2 separate regions of the Homo sapiens genome follow, and region 2 is linked to region 1. Evidence: promoter capture Hi-C in 16 types of primary human blood cells and fetal thymus (Javierre and others, 2016). All regions are on one chromosome and are shown on one strand. The core of a region is centred on a gene start or on the middle of the fragment in contact, and the rest is flanking DNA. Distances in the headings are between cores, read along the strand shown. Region 1 holds the start of CNKSR3 (CNKSR family member 3). Region 2 overlaps CNKSR3 (CNKSR family member 3).

Region 1 (5,108 bases), core at 1,370-3,869:
AGCTGGCAGAGGCTCAGAAAAGCCAGGGTGATAAGATGTAACCCTTTCTTTCTGCTACAGCAGAACTGTCCAATAGAAATATAATGGAAGCCACAAATGTGAGCCCTGTGTTATTTTAGATTTTCTAGGAGACATATGTAAGAAGGTAAAAATAAACAGGTGAAGCTTATTTTAGTAATATATTTTATTTAACCTAACGTATCAAAATACTATCATTTCCACATGTAATAAAAAGTATTAAGATATTTCATGTTCTTTTTTTTCATACCAAGTCTTCAAATGCCATGTGTATTTTAGACTTACAGCACATTGCAATTCTAACCAGCCACATTTCAAGGGCTGCAGAGCCACAAGTGGTACTGGTTACTAAGTTGGACAGAGCGGCTCTAGAAGTCAACAGTAGCTGAAATTTGCAGTGTCTCAAGTTGGCTCTATGAGGGACATACAGATAAAATACATATCAACTCAGTTTCAGGAAGCTGCCAGCCTAGGGAATTTGGCAGCATCTTGAATGGAGGAACACACCTCATTTCAAGCTAGCGTGGGCATGGATGGCTTTTAAGCTCATGCTTCCTACCAAGTACTGGCAATGCCACTTACTCTTTACCAAGGGAAACCTAGTCACCAAGGCAGAAACATGTGTTGTTTTTAGCTTCATTTTATATAGGAGTCCAGGAAATTCTGCTCACTTGACAAACCCGTTCTCAAGGAGTTCTCCCAGAGGAGCAGGAAATGGTCAGACATACCCACTGACACACCCCACACACCTCGGACATCCTATTCCACGTGGTCTATGTGTAAGTCACAGGCGTGAGAAATGAGATGTAGCGGTGATCAGTTTTCATTATGCTGCAGCCATGGGTGGGACGGTTTGAAAGACGACCTGGTCTTACCAGTATTACCTACCTCACAGGCTTACTGTGATGACCAAGGACAATAACAGAGAGAGCTCTTAGCAAACTGTAAAGCGCTACACAATTCTAGTTATTACTGAGAAAGAACACCATTCCTCACCTGGAAGAGCAGATAGAAAAACAAATAGTAACTTGAAACAGAGATGTCGTTGGGGGTGGGGGGAAACCATGAAAATACAGATTGTTCTTGGTGGACTTTGTTCTCTTGAAAGTACAGAAAAGGGTTGAGTAAACTCTAGTACCTTTCCCTCGAAATCGTAGGAGACATTGAAAAGTAAGCGAGCCAGCTAGGAGGACAAGCTTCTACCTCTGCTCATTCCCCCCACCACCCCCCCACCGCCCCAGCCCCACTGCCTTCCTCATCCCAAATATTGTATGAATCAAGACAGTGGTTCCAAACAATTATATTTCTCCTTCCCAGTGCTTACATGTGGCCTGAAAATGCAGCGCCACCGGGGATACTGGCGCCTCCCGGAGCAAAAGTCACTGCCTCCCGGGGAGTCCTGGCTCGAGGTTTCTCCCTGGCGCAAATGCTATGGTGTTGGCTTTTGCGCGGCCCTCTCGCCTTCTCCAACAAAAACAGACAGGCTCGGCGGACCCGCCGGAGTCTCCCTCTACCTGTCCGACAGCCCTGTCACGCCTGCGGACGGCTCTGGGCAGGCGGCATGGACGAGGTCCCGCGGGAGTCACCCACACAAAGGCACCTTGTGCCTCTGCACTCGGGCCCCCGGGTCGCCGGGCACCGCACCGGGGCCAGGCAGGGAGAGCGCCCCCCGGCCCGAGTGCCGAGTCCCGAGATCGGCATCCCCAGCCCTCAACCGCCACAGAAAGGCCACCCCTACTCCCTGGTTTAAAGATAGGGCTCCCCTCGGCTTGCCACAATCCGCACCCTGGAAAGGAAGAGCTCGGAGCAGGTACGAGAGATAGGAGCGCACAGGCCACTCGGCAGAAGTTTGCATTGTCACCGGGCTGTGCCCTCACCGCTTCTCGCCGGGAGGAAGGGCCAAGTACCCTCTTCCCCAGCTCCTCGTCCGCCCCATCCCCGAGGCTGGAGGACTCCGGACCCCCCCAAGGCCCGCGCACCTCTAGTCCAGTCCACCACTTGTTTGGGGCTCCACTTGGTCACGGGTTCCATGGTAAACCGCTTCGCCTCTCGCTGGGCTGGAGAGTCGCAGATAAAGTGCTGCTGCCTGCGCTCCGGTGCCCCTTCCCGGGAGGGCGCGCCCGCGGCTGCTCCCCTGCGCCCGAGCGACTCCGTCAAGACTGCATGGCCGCGGTCAGCCAGTCGTCCCAGCGCGGCTCCGCCAGGGGAGCCCGGCCCTCTCCCTCCAGCTGCCACAGTCCAGCTGCAGCTCCTCCTTCCCCCGCCGCCGCCGGGATCCCGGGCACAGCTGCTGCTCCCGAGCGACGGCAGCTGCAGGCACGCCGGGCTGCGACCCCAGACCCCTGGCCTCGGCTCGGCACGGGAGCCTCCCGGCCCGCGACCACTTCCTCGGATCTCTCGAGGCGCGATCGGCTCTCCCTCGGCCGGTCTTCTCGCCTGCTGGCTCTCCGGGGTCCCCGCTCCGCGTGCGCTGGCGTCCCGGAGCCTTCCCGGCGCAGGTCCCACCTCCTGCGCCGCCCTCCCGTGCCGCCCTGGCAGGGCCGAGCGCAGAGCGTGCGCGCTCGGGTTGCAAAGTTTCAGCTCCGGTTGCTGCAAACCGAATAAAAGAGAGGGCGGGGCCGAGGGTCTAGGGAAACTCGTGGGAGGGGGCGGGTCCGCCCGAAGCGGCGGACTCGGGTTACTTTCCCTCTCTAAGCCGGTCCGGCTCACACCCGCAGCGTCCCGGGCCCCGCTTTCCTTTTCAAGGGGCGGGTTGTAGATCGCGCGCGCACCCTGGAGAGCCCGCTGGTTTGTGTGAGGCCCTGGCCCTGTGGGTAGCAGAACACTCTGTCTCGCTGTGAGCAACAATACACTAAAAAAAAAAGAAAAGAAAAAAAAAAGTAAGATCTGCATGTTCTGTTCATTTTAAATGCTTTATATCGTAATACTACTCTGCCATTAAGCCGTCATTTTAGGTTTCTTAAAGTAGAACAATTTTTTTTTTTAGATGGAGCCTCGCTCTGTCGCCCAGGCTGGAGTGCAGTGGCGCGATCTCAGCTCACTGCAGCCTCTGCCTCCCAGGTTCCAGCGATTCTCCCGCCTCAGCCTCCGGAGTAGCTGGGATTACAGGCGTCTGCCACTACGCCCGGCTAATTTTTGTATTTTTAGTAGAGACAGGGTTTCACCATGTTGGCCAGACTGGTCTCGAAATCCTGAACTCAGGTGATCCGCCAGCCTCGGCCTCCCGAAGTGCTAGGATTACAGGCCTGAGCCACCGCGCCAGGCCAGAACAATTTTATTTCATTTATATGTTGACTGAAATCGTAACAATGTAACTCTTTTAATGCTATTGCTATGAAATTTCAACTTTGCGACTAAAATTAGATTGATGGCTTTTAGCGTTATATTTTGCTATATTATAATTTCATATTTACAGAGTGAGCTAATGCTCCTTGGGATTAGTCATTAACCGTGAGAGGAAAGCTGTTAGCCAAGAAAAAAAAAATAGCTCGTGCACAATTTCAGCGCCTGGCAGGGGAGGGCCCTTCCACATTCATGGACTGCAACTGGGGCCAGAGTTAATGCTAAACTGGGGGAAAATCTAATTTGAATGCCTGCCTCTCCTTCAAGTTCTCCCTGCATCCTAACCGCCCCCCCAACCCCTGCCACCCTCGCCACCACCCCTCCCCTCACCCCCCAACACCCCCCCCAACCCCCCACCCCCGCCCCGCCCCGCCCAGCAACCTCTTCCTCCCACTCTTTTTGGCACTGAATGATTCTTACTTTCAATTACGGTTATTTATTTACATCTTCCTCTTGGAGACTATTAACCCCTTGAGGGCAGAACCTACTTGATCTCATATAGAGTTTTCTCTCCTCCCTTTCTTCCTACCACCTAACTTGTAGCACCCAGCACGGGACCAAAGGCAAGGTTGGTATTTATTCATTCAGTAAATATCCGGGAATGCTTCCTATGTGCCAGCCACTGTATTCATTCAGTATTTGTTGAATTCGTGTGATATGTGCTACTTACACAGGTCTGTTTGGACGCACATGTGGAAAAATAGCTAGCAGCCAGCCTAGCATCTGATGAGCTGGAGCATCCAAGCAAAAGAAACATTTTTAAAAAGCAAAACATCAGACCCACCTCCCATTCAACTCCCCTAGAGGACTGGGCAACACAGAGACACACAACTATCAAATATAGTGATTCTTTTTCTTCATCTAGCGAAAGTGACTGGCAGACCACACAAGTTGGCAAAGGCAATGACAAAATTCCTGATATAGTAGTTGTCCTTAAAAAAAAAAAAAGACCTTTAAACTTAATGACATCCAGCATTAACCATCTTTACAGCAGTCAGCAGAGAGAAGGACCTTGACACTGGTTCACTGGAAAGGGTAACCAACCTGATGCACACCTTTTGTTTCAGCAATCACTGCCTGTTGTGTGATTTCTGATTATGATTAGGGTGACCACATAACTTACCTCCAAATCAAAATATTCTTGAGCATGAAAGAAGCAACTATCAAGAATTACATTGGAATAACATGAATAAACTGGGCCATACGGTCCCCACAATTATAAAAGAAAGGTCAAATATTAATGATTTTGCCGTGGAATTTTACTTGATGTTTTCACGTCTTCAGATTCATTGGCAGTAGTCTTTACCAGAAGAGCTAAAACACTAAAATTCTGCGAGTCAAGCAAGAGTTTGCAAAACATCCCACGGAGCCAACACACTATCTATACTTGGTACATAAATACAGCATAGCTAAAGAGGAAGGCCACGCTAAGATCTCTAACCCGGAAGACCAATTAACTATCTAAATGAATTAGCATTCTGTTTACACTTCAACTTCTGGAAGCTAATTACTATTTAAATAAAGCCTTCTACCTTAATTACAGCTGTTAGCACGTGAAAGTTTTAGGGAGGCCTGCCTTCCTAGCTGAAATGCAAACTTGAGGACATACAAAGCTATTAATGGCATACAAAGCTAATAAAGGCAGAATCTTAAGTAAATGGCTTTAAAAATTAAGTATATATAAAAGGATAATTTGTAAATTTGCTAACTTTTCTTCTCTGCTAGCTAAAATCTGTAGCTATTACACC
Region 2 (5,108 bases), core at 1,481-3,980, 110 kb before region 1:
GTAATAAAATTCTTTATGGAATAGTCTGCAAAATGCTTTAATATATTAATAAAATTAAAACAATTTTCACAGAAAATTTTAATAATTTTTTCTAACTTCTTTTCTGATTGCACAGTTAATTTTACCATCTAGTTACTTCAATAATATTTTCTCTGCCTACAGAGCAAATATAAGGGTAAATTATACAGACCCTGCTTTAGAAAGGCTCACAATTCAAGCTGGTCTAACACGATGAGTCAATGCTATGGAAAAACAGAAGAGACCAGTTAATTCTATTCAGAGTAAGATCAAGGAGGACCTCATATGGATGACCTTGGGACTTACTGGGGTAACTAGACCGAGAAGGATGAGTCCATTATCAGGATTTAAGAATCCAGAACTAAGTGCTAAGTAAGGGGTTTAAGGAAAGCATCAGCAAAAATTCACTAATTGTTTTCTTTTTTTTTTTTTTTTGAGACGGAGTCTCGCTCTGTCTCCCAGGCTGGAGTGCAGTGGCGCAATCTCGGCTCACTGCAAGTTGCGCCTCCCGGGTTCACGCCATTCTCCTGCCTCAACCTCCCGAGTAGCTGGGACTACAGGCGCCCGCCACCACGCCCGGCTAATTTTTTTTTTTTTATATTTTTAGTAGAGACGGGGTTTCACCGTGTTAGCCAGGATGGTCTCGATCTCCTGACCTTGTGATCCACCTGCCTCAGCCTCCCAAAGTGCTGGGATTACAGGCGTGACCCACCGCGCCCGGCCTCACTAATTGTTAGTTTAAATTACCACCTACATGAAGTCTTATACCCTGGCTTTGTATTTTATGTTGGCTAAAGAGAATGATTCAATAAGACTATAGGATAAAGGCACCATTAAAGGTGCTTCAGTGGCATTCTTTCATTGAGGAGAAATCTGCAGAAGGGTAGCACTTTCTAGTAAAACATAGTACTCTAAACACGGTTAGCTTACATGTTCTTCCATTTATTTAAGTGCCTTAAAAACAAAAGGAGAAGCAAAACCCTGAAAGATCTTGGTTTAATTCTTTTCTTCTCTAAAAGTAGGTTTCTGTTTTTTGGAGGGGATTTAATTGCTCATCTGATCTGAATGCCCATGACCAGCTCTTGTTTATCATTGGCATGGCCATGAACACAAACAATATAAAATGCCAATTTAACCAATCCACCATGCTTGTTTTTTCTTTTTTCCTAGGAATTAACAGTGGCAGGCCCTGGAAATAGATGGGTAAGAGCAAATCTGTGGTCATCAACTAGGTGCACAGTCCAGTGGGTGTGTGAGATGCATGCACAGGGCAGACAGTAGAGCCTGCAACTGTGATGGAATTAACAGGGTAGGCCCTGCAAACAGATGAGTAAAAGCAAATCTGCGGCCATCACTAGGTGCACAGTGCAGTGGGGGTGTGTGAGATGCACAGGGCAGACAGTACAGCCTGCAACTGTGATGGAATTAACAGGGTAGGCCCTGGAAGATGAGTAAAAGCAAATCTGCGGCCATCACTAGGTGCACAGTGCAGTGGGGGTGTGTGAGATGCACAGGGCAGACAGTACAGCCTGCAACTGTGGCGCAGGCGCAGAACAGGATTGAATTTCGCTAAAAAGACAAAGGAAGAAAAAGTATGGTCTCTGTCCTCAGGGCATTGCAACCCATTAGGCTGAATCATATGAACTGCAGATTATGCAGGTAAAATATGGCCACATATCCACACCTTCACAGGGCTCTGCCTGACACACGGAGGACACAATCACAAGAGCCAAAGCAGGGAAGGGGCAGGGAAAAAGTGGACACAACCCCACCCCAGTCCAGTGGTGCGGATCAATAAATCGAGACTTACGGCCAATCTGAAATAGATTCTATTCATGAAAGTCCTTCCAGAAACAACATTCAGGATGACGGCATCAGTGTTAGCCAAGTGTCTGAGTGGTCTGGGTGTCACATCTGTGTGTGTGCCCAAATGGATGAAATTTATGCACAACCAATAAGCCCCACAAAAGTGATTGTTATGCTGAGCCGAACAACCATTTTTTACTTCCCTTTGTCTCTCCCATAGCTTCTCTTTCCTTTTCACTTCCTGGACCTACCAAAGCCTTGGCCTTGGGTGGGGAGGCATCCAGTGACTGTCCTTTTCAGCTTCAACAATGGCAACACAATCTCTTGGCTTTGTATTTGTGTAAGAGTTCCTTTTCACGATGAGAATGTCCAAAATAGATACCATTCTACATTATTCCTTTATTTAAAACCACAGGAAACATAGAAACGAGTTTGAGGAATACCACTTCAAGATGGGAATGGGAGGCAAAAATAATTCAGCCAACTAGGAGGTGGGCAAAATGCTCCGATTCCCTTTGTTTTCATATACGATTTCATTGAAGGAAGTGGAAGGGATTTAATAGAAAAGATATGATGATGACAAATCAAGTCAATATTGAAAGAATACTCTAGGCGGGGCGCAGTGGCTCACGCCTGTAATCCCAACACTTTGGGAGGCTGAGGTGAGCGGATCACCTGAGGTCGGGAGTTCGAGACCAGCCTGACCAACACGAAGAAACCCCATCTACTAAAAATACAAAATTAGCCGGGTGTGGTGGCACATGCCTGTAATCCCAGCTACTTGGGAGTCTGAGGCAGGAGAATCACTTGAACCCAGTAGGCGGAAGTTGCGGTGAGCCAAGATCGTACCATTGCACTCCAGCCTGGGCAACAAGACTGAAACTCCGTCTCAAAAAAAAAAAAAAAAGTGTGTCCAATCACAGACTTTTGTCATTTCTTGAGTTCTGAATCGGCTAAAACATCCGAGTGAGTTTTCTAACAGTAAAAGCTGCATCTCTAGGCCACTGACCACACTGCAGCCCTCTGACAGTGTCACACTGGCATTATTTTGCTGCTTATGGACAAAAGAATGAGCAATTTCCTGTTGGCCAGCTCTGAATACCTTATTCACTAGAGGCTGAGATGGAGTCAGTACTGCTACTACAGGAACACGAGTCAACATCTCTTAAATGCTGTGTGCCAGACTATGCGAAGAAAGGGCCTTAAAAACATTATCTCATTTAATCACCATAAGCCTTCGAAGTAGATGCTAGTATTATCCCCATTTCATAGATAACTGAGGAGTGGAGAGGTCAGTCACCTGCTTCAAGTCACAGATCCCATAAGTGGCAAAGTGAGACAGCTGGATGATCCAACTTCAAAAGCTGAGCCCCCGCCTGCTTCTATCTGCTTGATGCAAATTCCCAAAAGTCAAAGGCTTCTAAATTCGCGCTAATTCCTCAAATCCCTCCTCTTATCCTGGTGCAGCCTCAGTTGGAGTGACAGGAAGTTTAGATATGAGTAAGAAAACGGAACCTGACACTGAGTTAAAAGGACAATTTCTTCCTTCAGAGACAATCTTACTTTATATTAAACTTCATTTCTGAAGCTCCCTGATTCTCTAAAATAATCAAAATGTTCAGCCCAAGATATGTCAAAATGGTGAAGAAATATCTTAAAATCCAGTTTTCACCCCTCTAACAATAAAGTTAAATCCTCCCCTTTAATGGGTCTAGTCAGTGGAAGAACATTTCTCTCATTTTAATCATTTTTCTCCTGATATTTTCTCTCCTTTTAATCATTTCTTCACAAACATCTGAATGTTTATGCTCCAGGCAAGAGGAGAGAAAATGATGAGAATATCCTTATCCCTGGGTGTGAGGAGTAATTACTCTACTGCCCTTTTAAATACCTTTGAGGTTTATTTCTTAATTTTTTTCCTCCAACTTCAGTTTCACAACTTCTTCATGAAACAAGGAGCTTGGTAAAGGAGGCCAGCAAGTAACAGGTTGGCTGTGAGCGTGACATGAATGCTCAGGCTGTAAACTGTCTTCCTCAGAGAGCAGTGACTCCAATGGTCAGTGACATGCAGGAGGAAACGCAGGATTAGGACCGACTTTCCTTAGGTGTAGCCTCACGTTTTAATCCCTGAGGTATGTTGTAAATGGGCAGCGCATGAACAGGTGATCAACTCAGAAGACGAGCTTCATAAAGGTTGCCATAGAACTTTAGAATATGCCTATGGATGGCCAAGTCACAACCAGAATTGAGTCCTTAATCACTGACCCCATGTGTATTTCTATGGAAGGGGAGTGCAGTATGTGGCCCAAAGGTTCTGAAAAACTGTGTGTGACAGTCTCCTGGCTGTGTAGCATTTTTTGTTGCTTATAGACAAAATTTCTCTCCTCTATCCAAATCAGTAGGCCATAGGCCATTATTTAAGACAAACTTTTGAGTATAAAAAATTTGTCTTTTACATACACAAATGCACACATATATAGGGTTTGGGACAGACTCCACACCCCTAAAACTAGAGGAAAAACAAGGCCCTCTAGCAGGTCTGAACATGATGTAATCACTTTTTCCTTTACTTATGTAAAAGGTACCCTTTGTCAAATTAGCACACTTCTGGCAATAATTCTGGCCCCAAATAAATAGAAACTTTAAGTTGAAACTTGGCAATTGTGAAATTTCCAAATAATTAAAAGGTAAATTTTACAGTAAAGAGACTAATTTTTTTCTAATTCCATATGCTATAGGCTACAAAATATATATTTAAATTCCCTTAGGTATTACCAAATGTGTGTTGAGGTCCTCAACTGGGGTTGAGGGACCCTAACTAGGGGTTAATACATCATGCAAAATTTTCCACGTATTGGAAGAAACATCAGAAATCAGCTTTTGTGTGCTCCTTAAGCCAGTTTTAAAATAGATTTTAAAATATTCACCTTCCAGCTGATTAGCATGAAAGGTTTGAAAAATATACAAAAGCAGAGTGCTATGGATTGCATGTTTATGTCCTCCCAAAATTCATCTGTTGAAACCCTAATCTCCAAAGCAATGGTATTAGGAGGCGGAGCTAATACCATAAGTGGGCCTTTGGGAAGTGAGTAGGTCCTGAGGGTGGAGCCCTCATGAATATTAGCGCCCTCACAAGAAGGGAAAGGAGAGCTTGCTTGCTTCCTTTCTCTCTCTCTGCCATGTAAGGATGCAATGGGAAGATGATGGCTATCAGCAAACCAGGGTAAGGGTGCTCACCAGGAACTCACCTTGATCTTGGACTTCCCAGCCTCCAGAACGGTGAG

What was found. The method cuts DNA at HindIII sites, captures the fragments that hold promoters and counts their contacts. A CHiCAGO score of 5 or more calls a contact.
Region 2: a contact is called between a fragment that was not itself captured here and the fragment with the promoter of CNKSR3 in region 1, in 1 of 17 cell types (megakaryocytes). The highest score is 5.1, in megakaryocytes.

Annotation. Positions count from the first base shown.
Region 1 is chr6:154,508,066-154,513,173 of GRCh38, forward strand. CNKSR3 (CNKSR family member 3) reads right to left here and starts at 2,620. Exons shown (of 13, transcript NM_173515.4): 1 at 1,998-2,620. The coding sequence starts at 2,049. It overlaps LOC101928868 (a long non-coding RNA gene), which reads left to right and starts at 2,726. Exons shown (of 2, transcript XR_001744422.2): 1 at 2,726-2,897. The HindIII fragment of the contact is 4,325 bases long and covers 1,213-5,108 here.
Region 2 is chr6:154,396,365-154,401,472 of GRCh38, forward strand. It overlaps CNKSR3 (CNKSR family member 3), which reads right to left. Exons shown (of 13, transcript NM_173515.4): 13 at 1-5,108. Among named protein-coding and RNA genes, the nearest start is that of IPCEF1, 42 kb to the left of the region's middle. The HindIII fragment of the contact is 7,956 bases long and covers 1-5,108 here.